2 separate regions of the Homo sapiens genome follow, and region 1 is linked to region 2. Evidence: promoter capture Hi-C in 16 types of primary human blood cells and fetal thymus (Javierre and others, 2016). All regions are on one chromosome and are shown on one strand. The core of a region is centred on a gene start or on the middle of the fragment in contact, and the rest is flanking DNA. Distances in the headings are between cores, read along the strand shown. Region 1 has its middle 16 kb from the start of HELB. Region 2 holds the start of TBK1 (TANK binding kinase 1).

Region 1 (2,700 bases), core at 78-2,577, 1.8 Mb before region 2:
GGAGAAGAAACATTTGGAAATTGGTTTATCCAGAAGCACCACCTTTTTCAATTGGCCAGCCTGAAGCAGGCCCCTCTTCTAATTCTAGAAAAGGTCCTGCATGTGTTTAGGATAGACTTGTTCTCCTGGTCTTTGTTAGCCCACTTCAATGAGGTTTCCAACCCAACACATCCCTGAAATTCCTCTGGTGCAGGGTCACCAGTGACTTCCACATGGCTAAATGCAATGGTTAGTACATTTGTTTTCTATTGCTGCTATAACAAATTACCCCAAACCCAGTGGTTGAAAACAACACAAATTTATTATCACCCAGTTCTTAAGGTCAGAAGTTTAAAATGGGGAAGCAGGGCTGCTTTCCTTCTGGGTGCTCCAGGGTACAATCATTCCTTGCCACATCCCTCAGACCTCTGTGTCCACGGTCACACTGCCTTCTCTGACTTTGACTCTGAATCTTTTGCCTCCCTCTTATAAGGACCCTTGTGATTACATCGGGCCCACATGGACAATCCAGGATAATCTCCCCATCTCCAGATCCTTAACATTAACCACATCTCCAAAGTTCTTCTTGCCATGTAAGACAATATAGTCACAGGTTCTGGGGATTAAGATGTGGACATCTTTGTGGGGCTGGGAGGACATTAATTAGCCTACTACAGTTGTTCTCAGTTGTTCTCTTATTGACCTGTCAGCAGTATTTGATGTCCCTGATCTGTCCTTCTATCTGAACACATTTTCATCTCTTGGTTTCTGGCATGCCGCGATCTTTCAGTTGTCTCCCTCCTTCATGGCTGCTCTGTCTGAGTAGCCTCCTTGGCCTTCCTTACTTTCCATGACCACTCTGTCCTTAGTCTTCTCTTATCTGTCCAGACTCCATTCACTCTTATGGCCTTGAGTATCACCTATATGTTGTGGTTCTTATATTTATATCACTGTCTATACATCACTGTTTTCTTTCTTCTTCTTTTTTTTTTTTTTTTAGACGGAGTCTCGTTTTGTCGCCCAGGCTGGAGTGCAGTGGCACAATCTCGGCTCACCGCAACCTCCGCCTCCTGGGTTCAAGCGATTCTCCTGCCTCAGCCTCCCGAGTAGCTGGGATTATAGGCACGTGCCACAGTGCCCAGCTAATTTTTGTATTTTTAGTAGAGACAGGGTTCCACTGTGTTGTCCAGGCTGGTTTTGAACTCCTGACCTCAAGTGATCCACCTGCCTCGACCTCCCAAAGTGTTGAGATTACAGGCGTGAACCACTGCGCCCGGCCTTATACATCACTTTTAAACTACAAACTTGTACTTCCAACTGCCTGCTTAACATCGCCAGTTAAATATCTTTTAAAACTTGACAGGATCAAACAGGAATTCCTGACCATTCTTCCTCCCCAGATCTGCTCTACCTACAGTCTTCCCCATCTCAGTTAATGGTAACTTCATCCTTTGGTTGCTCCCGCCAAACTCTTTGGAGTTAATCCTAACTTTTCTCTGTTTCCTGCGTCCCATGCACAATCCATCACCAAATCTCATTGGCTCTACCTTCGAAACATACCCAGAATCCAATCACTTCTCACCACCTCTGCTGCTCCCACCCTGGTCTCAGCTGCCTCCCTCTCTGTGCTGGCTTATTCCAATAATCTCCTAACGGACCTCCTGCTTCCAATTTTGCTTCCTACAGCATTTTTTTTTTCCAGTGGAGCTGCTATAATGATTCTTTTGAAACAGGTCAGATTGTATTAACTCCTTTGCTCAAAACCCTGCAAGAGCTCCACATCACACTCGCAGTGAAAGCAAAGCCTATTAGGCCTTACATGCTCTGCCCTTCCATCAGTCTCTCTGGCCTTCTCACTTCCTGCTCTCCCTTTGCTCATTTTGCTTCAGCTACACTGGCCCAGCCCCCTTGTTGTTCCTTGAACACATCAGATATGATTCTCCCAGAGAGTTCTTGAACTGTCTCCTCTCTTTGTCTAGAATAGTTTTCCCAGGGAACTGTGTGGCTAACTCCCTCGCTATCTTTGTGTTTTTGCTTAAGAAAAAAGATTATCATCTTCTCAATGGGGCTTACTCTGTCCAGCAGACCAAAGGCCCTTTGTGGCAATGTGAATTGCTAGAAACTTTTGAAATTAATTATATAATGTCTTTTTTTTTTTTTTTTTTTGAGACAGAGTCTTGCTGTTGGCCAGGCTGGAGTGCAGTGATGCGATGTCAGCTCACTTCAACCTCTGCCTCTTGGGTTCAAGCGATTCTCCTGCCTCAGCCTCCCAGGTAGCTAGGACTACAGGCAAGTGCCACCACGCCCAGCTAATTTTTTGTATTTTTTTTTTTTTTCAGTAGAGACAGGGTTTCACCATGTTATCCAGTATGGTCTCGATCTCCTGACCTCGTGATCTGCCCGCCTTGGCCTCCCAAAGTGCTGGGATTACAGGCGTGAGCCACTGCACCCAGCCGATTATATAATGTCTTTTAAAATCTATCAACACATTCTTTAATATAGCACTTCCATGTTGGAGAATCTCTCCTATAGAAATGAGAGCACCACTGTGCAAGAATATTTATTGTACTATTTCTCATAGGCCAAAAGCAACTAGAAACAATCAGATTGCTCATCAATAGAAAAATTATTGAATTTATTATGGTAAATCAAATTAAAAAACATTATGTAGTGATTAAAAAGAATTAAGTTAGAAGCTTAAGGATGTCAGTGCTGTCTAAT
Region 2 (2,700 bases), core at 115-2,614:
AAATAAGCAATAAAAATAAGATTCCCTTTTCACAAATAAGGAATACACATTTGCCAGTCATTACATTTCACTCACGATACAATAACAAACGTCTCAACTATCTAACGAAAAACCTTCCCTAATCAATGTAACTGTAAATGGCAAATAGTACCATTAGGTACCTATATGTATGTACCTTCAGGATAATAAGAAAAATATTTATCAGCTAAGATATCTGTTCTCTATGCAAATACAAAACTATGGTTTCTATTTAACAGTAATCACAATAGTGGTCAGGGGAAATGTCTTTTGAAATTATCTTCCAATAACTCCACAATAACATGTTAAAACATGACTCAGCACACCCACAACGTGCTTGCCATATAAATCTTCCCAAATTTTTGACAAGCATATAAGCAGACACTCAACAACTATGTTGCTGATGATGCCGTCTTCAGCCTACTTCCTTACACCGTCCAAAACGAAAGTTACTATTTGTTGAGGGATGAAAACAGGTTTGACGACATGGCCTATGGACAAAGTTCCAGGATTTCTAAACTCTGCCCCTATGTGATTCATACACTGGGGTTTCAGAGTGGAAAAGACCAGTCTTTGGTTATACATTTGGCAATTACTTGGGAGTTGTTTTGAGGCCACCTACTAAGAATACTTGGGATAGAGATTACAAATTAAACCCATAAGCCAGGTAGACGAGGAGCAAGGAAATGTCTGGGAATTCGTATTTCATCGGCATATATTTAAAACATCTTATGCTTCTAATTTCCGGTGTGAGTCAACCTCTGCGGACTGAACATCACTAAAACTCTAAGGAAACGTCTCTTTTTAATCCTCTGAAAAATCAATACATTTAAAAACTGCCCGTTGTGTCGACGCTCGGAAAGAGGGTAGAAAACAGCGAGTCTAAGGGAAAGAGGTGCCCCTGCCTCCCCAGGCAGCCAGGGCCCAGGCCCGGTAACGGAGTCGTCCTCTTTATGCCCAAAGCCGCCGGACGGGATGCAGGTCGAGGACCGGCCGCGCGGCGCGGAGCGGGGATGCAGGTAACAGGGCCCGCGCGACCATTCCACCGGCTACGGCCACCCGACACACACCCCAGAGGCAGTGTCCACGCAGCCGGGGTCCTGGATGGCTTGGCCTCGGGTCGTCCGGGGCTTCTCGGTGCGCCCGCCCCCGCCCCCGCTCTGACTCAGCATCCCAGCCTCCCACAGGGGGCGGGAGCGCTCCCCGCCGGGCGGCGCAGGCCTGACCGACCGCGCCCCGCGCCGCCTTGGCCCCTCAGCCCGCGGCCGTCTCACTTACCCAGCCGGGTCTCCGCCGCGCCACCGCCGGCGGGCTCCCGCGGCCTCCTCGAGACTCAGGACACTTCCGGCTTCGCAAGCCCTGGCCGGAGGCCACGTGACCGACGGCCGGCGCGCCGGTGCGGGTGCGCGTGCGCACGCCTATGGCCCGTCTGGTAGTCACCACAGCCGCGGCGGCAACTGCCGAGTCGGCTTCCGCGGCCACGGTAATGAGGGGGATGTCTGGAGACACCCCGTCCACTGTTGCCCTCGCCCTTTACTCTAAAGGGGAATGAGGAGCCCTGAGCAGCGAACACAGTAATTGGGATTCCCGCAACTGCAAATCCCGCCCCTTCCCCGAGCGCTGGCCGACAGTAGGGCGGACCGACGCTGAGCAAGGGATTACATCCCAAGATTTACAGGTGTGCAGAACGTGGGACACGTGGGGGGCAGGCACAGACGGCCGGCAGAGCTGGGAGGGATGGATTCTATGTTTTAAGGGCCCACTTTGGCTGCAGTGGAGCCAGATTATCGTCTCGCAGTAATTCAGACTTTACATTGTTTTTTTCATTTTCCCATCACCCAGAAATACATTAAATTCTTAATGTAAAAATGTTCATTTAATTCCCTCTCGGTATTTTGGAAAACGGCCGTATTGGAGTATCTAACTCTAAACTTAAGAATTTAAGAACTAAAACTTAAATACTAAAATTAGGTCCTGCAATATTCGTGCAGTCAAAATCTCAAGCCGCTATTCCCAATAAGGAATAGCTTTCTGAAGGGGTCCCTTCTGCCCACGGACAGCACAACAGGCCTTTCTCAACATGAGGGAGCAGAGACCGCTGCTAATCTAGGGCTAAATTTCTGAGTGGAGGGGAAGAGGAAGATGGTGTTTCCCAGAGTAGCAGCAGCAAACACGAATGAATGGGAAGTCATGCGGAGTGGCTCAGAGGCTTTTGAATGTAACAGACCTAGGGTTGCTGTCTCGGCTGCCAATTACTGACTTAAAAGCTAATCTCTTACCTCTCTAAGCCTCAGTTTTATCAAATGCACAATGGAGATAACAAAAGTCCACTCTAATGAATTCTTACAAAGCAAGTTACTTTATTAGCATTTTAAACAATGTATAAGTGATGGAATCATTCTAACAACACATCTATTCACTGCTTACAATTCCAACTAATTTCAGTTCTTTGATATCTAATGACAAGAGCGAAGACCTGTTAAAGTTCCTTCCACCAGTAAAACTCACAGCTCAAAGTTGTGGGAGTGATTAACTGAGCCACAGGCCTTCATTCACATGTTTACCACATTAAAATACCACACAGTGTTTTCTTATAAGGTCAACCAACTGGGAAGCAATTAACATTAGCATTAAGATTTAAACTGTTAGGCACAGGGCTAAATCAGGCATTATATGAAAACT

Evidence for each region. The method cuts DNA at HindIII sites, captures the fragments that hold promoters and counts their contacts. A CHiCAGO score of 5 or more calls a contact.
Region 1: a fragment that was not itself captured here is called in contact with the fragment with the promoter of TBK1 in region 2 in 1 of 17 cell types (total CD4 T cells); the score reaches 8.5 in total CD4 T cells.

Annotation. Positions count from the first base shown.
Region 1 is chr12:66,285,456-66,288,155 of GRCh38, reverse strand. No RefSeq gene overlaps it. Among named protein-coding and RNA genes, the nearest start is that of HELB, 16 kb to the left of the region's middle. The HindIII fragment of the contact is 2,700 bases long and covers 1-2,677 here.
Region 2 is chr12:64,450,784-64,453,483 of GRCh38, reverse strand. It overlaps TBK1 (TANK binding kinase 1), which reads right to left and starts at 1,364. Exons shown (of 21, transcript NM_013254.4): 1 at 1,297-1,364. XPOT (exportin for tRNA) reads right to left here. Exons shown (of 25, transcript NM_007235.6): 25 at 2,359-2,700. RefSeq lists a silencer at 1,024-1,493. The HindIII fragment of the contact is 9,573 bases long and covers 1-2,700 here.